Linked DNA regions of Homo sapiens: region 1 is linked to region 2. Evidence: promoter capture Hi-C in 16 types of primary human blood cells and fetal thymus (Javierre and others, 2016). All regions are on one chromosome and are shown on one strand. The core of a region is centred on a gene start or on the middle of the fragment in contact, and the rest is flanking DNA. Distances in the headings are between cores, read along the strand shown.

Region 1 (6,371 bases), core at 1,419-3,918, 400 kb before region 2:
TCAAGAAAAGGGCCAATCAAGGACCAGGCCCCAGTGGCTCATGCCTATAATCCCAGCACTCTGGGAGGCGGAGATAGGTGGATGACTTGAGTTCAGGAGTTCGAGACCAGCCTGGCCAAATGGCGAAACCCTGTCTATACTAAAAATACAAAAGTTAGCCAGGCATGGTGGCAGGTGCCTGTAATCCCAGCTGTTTGGAAGGCTGAGGCAGGTGCCTGTAATCCCAGCTGTTTGGAAGGCTGAGGCAGGAGAATCCCTTGAACCTGGGAGGCGGAGGTTGCAGTGAGCCAAGATCATGCCATTGCACTCCAGCCTGGGTGACAAGAGCAAAACAGTTTCAAAAGAAAGAAAGAAAGAAAGAAAAGGGCAAGGGTCCCTTGACTCAAGTCCACTACCGGAATGGGTAAAATGACCAGCGGGTAAAGAAAAGAAAGATCTTCAGAGTCAATGGTTTTGGGGAAAGATGAATGAGTCCTTAGATGAATAGATGATGGTTTGTGACAAGGTCTGGGTGTGGTGGACTTCTGGCCTCCTCTCCTGTGATAAGAGTTAATCATCAGAGGTTTGGTAACAATTGACTTCATCTTGCAGGATGTGTCTTTAGGCATATGGAGGGAAACTCAGAGAACCTCTCCATTTTGAAATTTTTCAAGTGCCTTTAGCTCAAAGTAATCAATATACAAAAAAATATATATACCAATATACATATTTTGGGGTGGCATTTCCTGAACTCCTTCAATGGTGCTGGGGTTCAGAAACCAACACCCTAAAGTATGGCACTTTAACATGCTGAACTTCAGATGAAGCCTCTCAAGGTCTCTCTGGCATGCCCCACCCCTCTCCGCACTCTCTCCCAGAGCACAAGGCCAATCTGTTCTCTGAAGTTCCCTGATCTGCCTAAAGTTTGGGTCCACCAAAGAAGAAAACAATTACCTGTGGTCCCTTCCCTGAGTTTTCAGTAACTGAACTCATATCACAGGAAGAAAAACTGAAGTTTGTCAACAAATTTGGACAGACTTTTGTCACAAACCATTGTCTGCTCTGCGGGCCCAACAGACTTTGTCTCAGGCCATTGTATGTTCCTCACGCCTACTGAATTCCCCAAAATTCATTTACTACTACCCTAAAATCATCCACACTTCCCCATCTCCCTTTCTCCTAAGAAGAAGGGTATATACAAGCATCTGTGTCCCATTGCATGGTGGCGTAATCACTCTATGATAGTTCCCCTATGCATGCTAATAAGTTTGTATGCTTTTTCTCCCATTAATCTGCCTTTTGTAAGTTGATTTTCTCCTTATGAAAAGAGAAATATTAAGCTAATTGGGCTTACTTGGTATATTAAATTATACGGGAAGCATTGCCAAATAAGAAGTAAGGCTAAACCTTCTTTGGATTATATTTGTATGAATGTGTTATTAACATATTTCAGAAATTGTGTGAAATTCATAGAAATTTGATAGTTCTGGAATAACATTATCAGTCATAATTCTGGTTACTATCTTAAAATGTTGCATGCAACAGAAATAACCAAATTCCCTTCTCAATTGTGTTATCATCGTAATGAACTCTCATCAGATCTTTAACTATGAACATTTGAAGTCTTGTTATTCTCAGCTGGCAATTGTTTACTGTGGTCTATCTTTTTTCTTTCTCCCCTGTTTCCTTATGTCCTAATTACTTCCTTTTCCTTGCAGGAAAATCCATGGAACCATAATCTATGGATGGCTTTAGGTAAGGCTTATGCTCTAGCAAAAAACCAGAGCAACTGTTAGGCTTATGAAGATAAGCTAGTTTCCACTGAGGAATGATTCCAATGGGGTTCTTGAGGGCTCACTCTTGGCAGTAGTAGTGTATCAGTCATATGGAATTTGAAACCAATCCATAAATTGGGGAAAAATCCTGGACTTTGTGGCTAACCAGAACTCCCAGAGGTTCAAACGGGCAGAAGTCATCCTTTGAGAAAGGTGGATGATGGCATATATACTTTTTTTTTTTTTTTCTGAGATGGAGTCACCCAGGCTGGAGTACAGTGGGGCAATCTCGGCTCACTGCAACCTCTGCCTCCTGGGTTTAAGCAATTCTCTGCCTCAGCCTCCCGACTAGCTGGGATTACAGGCGCGTGCCATCACGCCCGGCTAATTTTTGTATTTTTAGTAGAGACGGGGTTTCATCATTTCGGCCAGGCTGGTCTTGAAGTCCTGACCTCGTGATCCACCCGCCTTGGCCTCCCAAAATGCTGGGATTACAGGCATGAGCCACTGCGCCCAGACAGCATATGTTTTAAGAAAAAACATTTACTGGAACATCATGTGGACTTAGAGCTTCTTTTCGCCCAAATTGGAGGCTTGTATATAGTATTGACAAAACTGAATATTGTGCCTGTCTGTCCCCTAATTTTGTTACTAGAGGAAGCTTAACTAAAAACAAAGGTGAAACTGCTGTTTCTTTAGACACTGCCATCAAATACATGAAGGAAATTTCTTAAGGGAAAGGAACACATGCTGTGTCCATGGCAGCAGCTAACAGTTGGTTTGCAGGAATCCTGAGTGGTGGATGGCAAGCTTGGCTTTTCCAGGGTTTTCTAATCTATGTTCTTCTAGTGGGTCTCCAGGTTACTAAGGCTTGTGTTATCAAGTTAATGACAAAATTGGATACTTATTTAAATCAGATCATTCTATAGCAAGCTGTGGTCCTTAATTTCCATCACACTTTGAATAAGGATTATGGCCAAATGGACTCAAATACTGTTAAGCTGCCTATATTACTTACCTAAGCTTTGACTTGTTTGATTTGGATCAATTTGGTCCCTCAGGGCTCCTGTTAAGGAATACGCTTCATTTTTTGGTGTTATCCTAAATACCAAATCCTATCTAACAGTCATCATGATAGTCCCCTGCTGTGCTGTATCCTCTCAAGTCTTAAATGTTAGTATGCAGCCATCCATTGAGCACTGAATGATCTCACTTTGACTAAATCAGCAAGAACATAATTATTCGACTGATGTGATAACTTGTGAATTCCATATTGAGACCAAGTAAGTCCATTTATGATGGTGACAGACAGTGGCATGAATCAGACATGTTTTTAGAAAGTTTTATTAATTTTATTTAAAATTTTATTTTCAGGAATGGGATTGACTGCAAAGGAGCACAAGGGAACTTCCTGGGGTGATGGAAATGTTTTGTCTTGATTGTGGTAATGATTACATGACTATGTTTGTCAAAATTCCAGAACTTTATACCTAAAAGGGTGAATTTTACTGCATGTAAATTATACCTAAACACATGACTTTTTAAAAAGGCCTGAAATCTTAACTACTCAGCTAAAAATAAAATAAAATAAAATAAACAATTTAGGTGCAAAACAAGTTTTGTTTTTGGGACTGACAGAGGTCCAGTGATTGTATTTATTTATAAAGCTAATAATCCAATCCAATATATCAATATCAATACTTTTAAATAGGATATAAAAAGTTATGAGATTTTTTAAAATAAGGATTTAGACTGCAAAATATTATGACTACAATGTTCCTGAAGCAACACTATCTTAAAAAATATCTCAAACAGAAAATAACACTCTAATGCTCTCAATCATTGCAATAATTGAAACTTCCAGAATATTACCATAATGCTGCTTATATTACATACCCAAAGCCCTGTATTTAATAGTTAAAAACAAAGAATTATTTAATACCAGCTAGCTTCATTACTTGATAGATTAACTTGCTTGACAGATCAACATTACTTGATAGATTACTGGATAGATCAACTAGCTTCCTAAAACATAACTGTAGCTCAGCTTCTAAAAAAGGTGAAAGAAATTATTATATTCAACTGAACTAGATTTTAAAAATAAAGACTATCAAGAACATAGGAAGAGGTAATTAAATGACGGGTCCTCTCTACTAAGGTTTCAATAGAAGCAAATACATCCGAGAAACCATTTACAAAGAACTCACCCTCATAATTGCCTTAGAGACCAAAGTCACAATTTTAAGGCCAAGATCTTTAGAAATCAGATAGGTCAGTGTGACGGTTAATTCTGTGTCAAACTTGACTGGATTATGGGGTGCCCAGATATTTTGGTCAAACATTATTCTGGGGTTATCTTTGTAAGGGTGTTTTGGATGAGACTAACATTTAAATTGACAGACGAAAGCAGAGTGCCTTCTATAATGTAGGTGGGCTTTATCCAATCATTTAAAGGCCTGAATAGAATGAAAAGTTTGACCCTCCCCAAAGTGAGTGAATTCTTCCTACTTTTGAACTGTGACATGGGCTTTTTCCTGCCTTTGGACTTGGACTAGAACTACACCATCAGCTCTCCTAGGTCTCAAGCTTGCTTACTCACCTTGCAGATCTTGGGACTTGCCAGCCTCCATCACTGCATAAGTCAATTCCTTATAATAAATCATATATGTGCACACACAGGCATGCCTCAGAGATATTGCAGGTTTGGTTCAAGACCACTGCAGTAAAGTAAATATCACAGTAAAGGGATCCACACAAATTTGTTGGTTTCTCAGTGCATATATGTTATGTTTACACTACACTGTAGTCTTAAGTGTGCAACAGCATTATGACTTTAAAAAAAGTACACACCTTCATTTAAACATATTTTCTTGCTAAAAAAATGCTGACAGACATAAAGTGAGCACATGCTGTTGGAAAAAACGGTACCAACGGTACCAATTTGTAAATAACACATTATCTGCAAAGTGCAATAAAGTGAGACACAATAAAATGAGGTATGCCTGTATATCCTATTGGTACTGTTTCTCTGGAGAATCCTAATACAACCTGCTTTCAAATCAATTTAAGACCCTCCCCCCATAAGCATTACATTGAGGAAAATGTGGTTGCAACTTTGTCCTACAAATTAGGACAAAGAGACCTTTGTTGCCATATAACAATATTAAAAAACCAGTATGCCTACCTCTGGATGTATTTGCTACAAATACCAGTATTAGATTGTAATTGCCAATCCTTTAAAACCAGTTTTAAGATGGATATAAAGCCCTAAAAATCTTGCAGCTTCCACATGCACATCTGAAAAACTTCCAATTTACAAAGGACATTGTGGTATTTTTGGAAAACAAAGGAAAATGACACATACTAATTTCTGTCATTTATTCACGTCATAATCCCCAAAGCTACCTTTATTCCACGACTCTTTCCACCATTTTCCTACAGTCAGCTTTTTTTAAGGCTATAGCCTTTAAAAACTTGAAACAGAAAATTTTAAGGATGCAACCATTAGAAAATGTTCCCATACTACCATTTAACATTCCCCATTTATCATTATGTTTACTATCGTGTAATTTCCAACATAATATTATGAGGTCAAAGGCTCTACGAACGCCGTTTTACAATCTACCTAGGGAGGCAATGGCTGTGAAACACACCACACCAATGACAGGAATGCGGGTCACTGTGACACAACGGATCCCTCTGCAAAGTCAAAGCTAAGAGTTCACTTTACGCTGACGGAGCTTCTTTCCAGGACCCCCACCCCCACCCAAGGACAGGAGAGTGTCGATTTCCCAAGGTGTCTGGCACTGCTTCTTGAAAACGCAGCTCTCATCTGGTTCCTGGAAGGTCATACTGGTTCGCGCAGGGCTCGGGACGGGGCGCTTGGCTTCTGAGGCACCCGCGCTGGCTCCTCACCCGGTGACCTTCAGGCCTCTGCGCTTGGCCTGACCCTAGAAGGGCCACCGCCCTTCACAGCGGGCGGGCACCGTCCCTCCCACGGCCCCGCCGACTGCTGACGCGGTGGCCCCAAGGGTCCAGGCCCGCACTTGCCCCACTCCCGCGGCGCCGTCCCCCATAGTCGGTCCCCGAGGGCCGCGCCCAGCTCCTGCTCGGATTTCAGCCCGCACCGCACCCCAGCCGCCAGGGAACCTTCCAGAACCCTGCCCCTCTGGCTTTCTCCCGAAAGCCCAGGGTCGCCGTCCAGGAAGAAACTTCGATTCATTTATTGAGCGCCGACTGTGTCCAAGGCCGAGGGAGGGGCGGGGTTTCCACGCGGGGAGACCCCCTAGGTTCTCGCCTCGGTAAGCGCCCGCGTTCCAGCACCTCGAGTCGCCCGCGGGCCCCCACCCCTCGGGCCGGGCCCGGTCCTCGAGGAAAACCCACGGCGGGGCAGGAAGGAACGAGGAGAGCCACGCTCCTTGCCCGCCTCGTCCCCTCCACTCCCCTTCACCTCACGGGACCCCAGGGAAGCCGCCGGAGCTAAAATTAGCAACCCGCGCAGCGCGCGCTCACGTGCGCGCGGCCCGGCGGGGGCGGGGAGCAAGGGGCGCGGTCCGGGTGAGTCACCGGCCCCGCCCCACTCGCCAAGAACGCGCTGACGTCAGCCGCTTCCCCGAA
Region 2 (5,598 bases), core at 857-3,356:
AGCTTTAGCTCTACTTCTAGTTCCTTAAGGAATCTTGCTGTTTTCTATAGTGGTTGTACTAGTTTACATTCTCACCAGCAGTTTTATGCATGTTCCCTTTTTGCCACATCCACATCAAAATCTATTATTTTTTGACTTTTATGACAATTCTCGCAAGAGTAAGATGGTATCTTATGGTGGTTTAATTTGTATGTCTCTGATAATTAGTGATGTTGAACATTTTTTCATATGTTTGTTGACTGTATATCCTCTTTTGAAAATTGTCTATTCATGTCCTTTGCCAATTTTTTGATGGGATTGGTTTTATCTGGCTGATCTGTTTGGGTTCCTTGTAGATTCTGGATACTGGTCCTTTGTCAGATGCACAGTTTGTGAATATTTGCTCGCACTCTGTGGATTGTCGGTTTACTCCGCTGATTATTTCTTTTGCTGTGCAGACCCTTTTTAGTTTAATTAGGTCTCATTTATTTATTTTCATTTTTGTTACATTTGCTTTTGAGGTCTTAGTCATGATTTCTTTGCCTGAGCTAATGTCTAGAAGTGTTTTTCTCATGTTATCTTCTAGAATTTTTATGGTTTCAGGTCTTAGACTTAAGTCTTTGATCCATCTGGAGTTGATTTTTGTGTAAGGTGAGAGACGAGGATCCAGTTTCATTCTACATGTCCACTTCAGCCTTTTGAGTAGCTGGGACTACAGGTGTGTGCCACCACATCTGGCTAATTTCAAAATATTTATTTAGTAGAGACAAGGTCTCGCTATGTTGGTCCAGTCTCTAATTCCTGGCCTCAAGTAATCCTTCCTCCTCTTTCTCCCAAAGTGCTGGGTTTAAAGGTGTGAGGCACCACGTCTGCCCTATTCTCATTATTGAATCTATAAAGTTCTTGGCATGGGCTCTGTCTCAGGGAGCAGTGCAGGGCTAAGTCCAGAATCCAGGTCTCCTCACCCAAGCCCTGGCTCTCAACTACCCCTCAGGGGTCTCTGCCCTCCTGTGGAAGAGAAGTTCCAGTTCCATGACAGGCAACTTGTCAGGATAAGCATCCAGAAACTGACCCGCCATCAGTGGCACTTTGACAACTGTCTTCTTAATTCAAGGTTCACTTAGCATAGGTCTCATAACTGCTTTGCTCAGAGCTGGCCTGCTGGCCTGCAGTTTAAAGAGAAAGGATGCTATGGCCAGGATCCTCAGTGTCACAAGAGAGGAAGTCAGGGAATCACAGAACCTTACAGCCAGAACAGACCCTGGAGAGCGGGAGGTCTGCTCTCCTTTCAGAAAGAGAAGCTAAGGCCCAGAGCAGGGAAGTGGCTTGTCCAGGGTCACACAGCTGAGCAAAGTGACAAACCTGGACCAGGAGCCAGCCTTCAGGTCAGCAGTCTGGTGCTCTTCCCACCTCAACCTGCTCTCCTCTTTCTTAAAGAAAAAGAAAGAGAAGGTGTTTCAGTAGTGAGTGTGGGATAGCCACCCACTTCACCATGGTTTGGAAGCATCTCTCCATCCCTCCTCTCACTCAACAGCTGTGGCAGAACAGTCAGGGCCTGCCTGACCTCTTGAGTTTTATTGTCTCCTCTCAACTTGGGCTTAAAGGGACTTTATTAACCATGACTAATACCAGAGGATCCAAAGCTGCACCCACTTGTTAATTTTGAGGAATTTTTAAATGCGGGATTTAAAAAAGATTTAATTTCACGCATAGGTATGAACAGCCCCTCATCATCCCAGGTAGAGGATGAACAACTCATCATCCCGGGTAGAGGCAGGTAAGTGTGTCCAGCGTCCCTCAGGGAATGCTCTTCTGATGCCAAACCCTCTGCTTCCGCGGGGTCACTTCTCGGGTGGTTTTGTTTCTCCTCTGCTTCCACAGTTGCAAACCCTCGAAGTGCCACGACCCCTGGGGAAACTCGATCTTAAGTCCCATGGCCAAACGCTCCAGCCCGCGGGGCTCTCAGGACACCACAGCGATCGGATTTCGCGTGGCCGCCAGGCTCCCCCTACTCCTGTCCCCTCCCGCCAGAGAACCCCTGGAGCCAATCAGAGCGTCGCGGAGCCCGGGGTTGTAGAGTCCCGAGCCCGGGACCCGCCCCTCTTTGTTGCGGTGGCCAATAGACGCATTCGGAACATCGGCGGCTGCCCGGGTGACTTGGTTATATGTCACAGAATAACATTCGAGAATGGGACATGGAATGAGGCGACGGCCCCAGCAAGCCCCAGCAGCCCCAGCCCCAGCCCCAGGCCCAGCAGCAGCAGCAGCAGCCCCTGCTCTCCCGCCGCCCGGAGAGGCTCTGCAGCCATGAAGCCAACCGTCCCGAGGTAGGATCTTGGAGCTGCCGCGCGCCCTTCCTGCGCGCCGCCCGCCTGCAGCCAGTCCCTCCCGGTGATAGGCGCTGGAACTCGGGGAAAAGGGGGCGGATGGAGCTCTTTCCACTAGATCCCCGCCGGGGTCCGGGAGGGCTTCCTGGAAGAAAGCGGGCCGCCTTGCAAGCCAAGGCTGCTGCAGCGCCCTCGCGCCAGCTCTGGGCGCTCACATGCCAGCACGTTCGTGGCTCCCCTCCTCTCTTGGCCACATCTGAGGACCCAGGAATGTGTGGAGCCTTGCGGGAACCTCCTGTTCCTTCATGCTACACAAGCTGTCTTTCTTCTCCCCACATCTTGCGCTCCGCATCCCCCAAGCTCCTTGTGCCCCTCCATCCCCAACCCCCCGGGTTTAGGTGTGTGTGAAGCTTCGTGGCACATTTTGAGCTGCCTTTCTAGGTAATCGCAGGGCTGGAAGCCCGTCATCGATTCTCAGGGAGGCTGTCAGCGTGCAGGGGGGAGCGGGGAGTGTCGTGGAGACACTCCGGGACCCCTCACTCGGTTCCGCTGTGCGTCCACTTAGCTGTGGTGTCAGCTGTGTCTCCGCTGATTTCAGGCACCGCCGGTAAGCAGGGAGCCTCCGCGGAGCTCCCGCCGCCGCTCCCCCTTGGTGAGTCCTGCCGCAGCGAGAGGCATGGAGAAGGCCGCCCCCGCGGGGCGCTGATCCCCTCGCCGCGCCCGCGCGCACACGCCCCCCGCCGCCGCCGCCGCTGCCGCCGCCGCGCGCCCCCAGTACCTCGCTCCCCGCCCAGGCCCCACCATGACCGGCTCCGCGGCCGACACTCACCGCTGCCCCCACCCCAAAGGCGCCAAAGGCACCCGGTCCCGGAGCAGCCACGCGCGGCCCGTGAGCCTCGCCACCAGCGGGGGCTCAGAGGAGGAGGACAAAGACGGCGGGGTGCTGTTCCACGTCAACAAGAGCGGCTTCCCCATCGACAGCCACACCTGGGAGCGCATGTGGATGCACGTGGCCAAGGTGCACCCTAAGGGGGGAGAAATGGTGGGCGCCATCAGGAACGCCGCCTTCTTGGCAAAGGTCAGTGGCTTCCAGGGCGGAGTTGGGGGGCTGGGGGTAGGTAGGCAGCGATGGGACCGTTTCAGCCTATACATAGCAAACACAGGCAATCTCCATTTTCCTAGTCCTGCTACAAACTCCCTTCCTCTCCCCATTCCTTCCTGCCAGCCCTTTTCTAATTGAGATATTTAGATTGGAAGCCTAAGAAATGGGGAAGGGAGAGGTAGCGGGCTTGCTATCCTGGGACTGTGTAATTGGATTGTGCCAAGGTGTCTTTGAAGCTCCAGCCAAACTCTATTATTTACTCACCCCCACATACATCCTCCTTCAGCAAAAGCTAGAGCCACCAGGTACCAGCGATGCCAAAGAATGCACAGACCCCAGGGATCCCACCCTGCTTGTTCTCTTTGGAGTGTCTTGCTCCTCCTCTGCTCCCCTCTTCCCCCAGCAAATGATTTATTAAGCTGTGAATGAATTTGAAATCAACCAGTCAGACTTCTCAGTGTGAATAATTTCCAGACTTTTTGCCAGTTTTTTTTCTTTTCTTTCTGGTTTTTTTGTGTGTGTGTGTGTGACAGTGACTTTCACCTCTGAAACTTGCAAAACGGTGAACTCTCTCTCTCTCTTCCCAGCTTATTTGTGCTCCAAGAAAAAAGAAAGACTTTTGGCTGAGACTTAAAAGGGACTTTCCAGTACACATGATGAATTAGTCTCACTGGATAGAAAAAGAGGATGAGGAGTGAAACTCTCTTTTTGCCTTGGAGAGAAGCCAGTGAGCCATTTGGGTTTGGTGGCTAAGGATATCTTTACCGAGGGAGGGAGATGTACCCTGGTGGGAGTAGATACGTTATATGAAACATCAAAATGCAAACTGGGGAGAAATGCTGCCGAGCCTCGGGGTTATAGCGTGGCGGATGGTTTCCCCTGGACCCTGGGGACGCTGGTACGGCTGAGAAGATTCCTGGGCAGGTCTAGGAATGCCAGACTTGAGACCCGGAAGGCCATCTGGTTGATTCCCCAGCCTGGTGACAGCTGAGCATCTGAGCCTGCAGGCCAGAAAGCTGTGTGTGTCCTTGGAGAAGTGACAGAGCCTCTAAACTTCCTGCTGCAGTCAGTTACAGTGTTCTATTACTCTGCTGGTCAAGGAGATCTTCATTGTGCCCAACTAGAATCTTGCCTGCTTTAGTGTCAACCATAATTACCCTTGCTGAGTTCTTGAATATGAGAACAACCTTTGTTCCTGGTTTGCAGTTCTGACTTGAGAATTTTTCCTCCAGTGAGGAGCCGAGAGCCCTTAAACTTGGAAGAAAAGTGACCACAAGGAAAAAAACGCCTGTTCCTACTGTCCCATGCTGCCTTTCTTAGTAGCACCCGTACCAACCCTGCCTCTAATTGTGCTTTTATCCTTCCTCCAACCATGTATGCGGGTGCGCGGGGGGGGGTGCATTCTCTATGTGGGAATCATGGAATTTTGCTGTTTGTAGAGACCAGTCTCCCACCTCTCAACAGAATCCCCTCCTCTTTCTGAAGACCTCTTGGGAATGGGGAGCTTGCTGCTTCCCAGGGCAGCTGATCTTAGGCCTGGCCAGAGTCGATTGTTAGGAAGCTCTTAGACCAACCATAAATCCTCCTCGCAGCACCCTCCCACCCGCAAATCACATTTCATCACTGATTGTTGTGTTCCTCTTGCCTTTTGAATCAGGGCAGAGCATTGTCAACTTCCTTTGCTACTCACAGCACCCTTGAATGTTATGAGAGAGTGCTCTTAGGATGGAAGGGACTTGGAGTAAAAATCAAGGAACTGAATCCTAGTCTTGGTTGTATGACATCTAGCCTTGTGCCTCACTTAAGTGAGGTCATTCACTTAAAATCTCTGTCCTTAGTTTTCTCATCTATAAAATGGGAATAGACCAGACTTTGTAAGTTCTTTCCAGCTCTAAAATCTCATGATGTTATGACCCGTGAGTCTCCAGGTCACTAATGCTGATCTGTGTGATGCTAGAGGTCTGCTAGACTATGAGCCCTCAGGACTGTGACTTTTTCTATCATTCTGCTTCTGCTTCTTCCTTTGGCCTTCTTTGTCCACAGATAGCTCCTTTTGCCCTTTTTCTTTTCTTTTTTCTTATTTTGGAGACAAGGCCTTCCTCTGTCACCCAGGCTGGAGTGCAGTGTGTGATCATGGCTCACGGCAGCCTCAACCTCCCAGGCTCAAGCAATCCTCCCACCTCAGCCTCC

What was found. The method cuts DNA at HindIII sites, captures the fragments that hold promoters and counts their contacts. A CHiCAGO score of 5 or more calls a contact.
Region 1: a contact is called between a fragment that was not itself captured here and the fragment with the promoter of VASH2 in region 2, in 1 of 17 cell types (fetal thymus). The highest score is 5.1, in fetal thymus.

Annotation. Positions count from the first base shown.
Region 1 is chr1:212,552,715-212,559,085 of GRCh38, forward strand. LINC01740 (long intergenic non-protein coding RNA 1740) reads left to right here. Exons shown (of 3, transcript NR_125985.1): 2 at 1,698-1,734; 3 at 3,129-3,352. Among named protein-coding and RNA genes, the nearest start is that of LINC01740, 10 kb to the left of the region's middle. RefSeq lists enhancers at 5,776-6,371, 5,893-6,022 and a silencer at 6,083-6,352. The HindIII fragment of the contact is 213 bases long and covers 2,563-2,775 here.
Region 2 is chr1:212,948,435-212,954,032 of GRCh38, forward strand. VASH2 (vasohibin 2) reads left to right here and starts at 2,107. Exons shown (of 8, transcript NM_001301056.2): 1 at 2,107-2,306; 2 at 2,905-3,384. The coding sequence starts at 3,109. RefSeq lists enhancers at 2,093-2,242, 2,763-2,812. The HindIII fragment of the contact is 4,785 bases long and covers 1-2,714 here.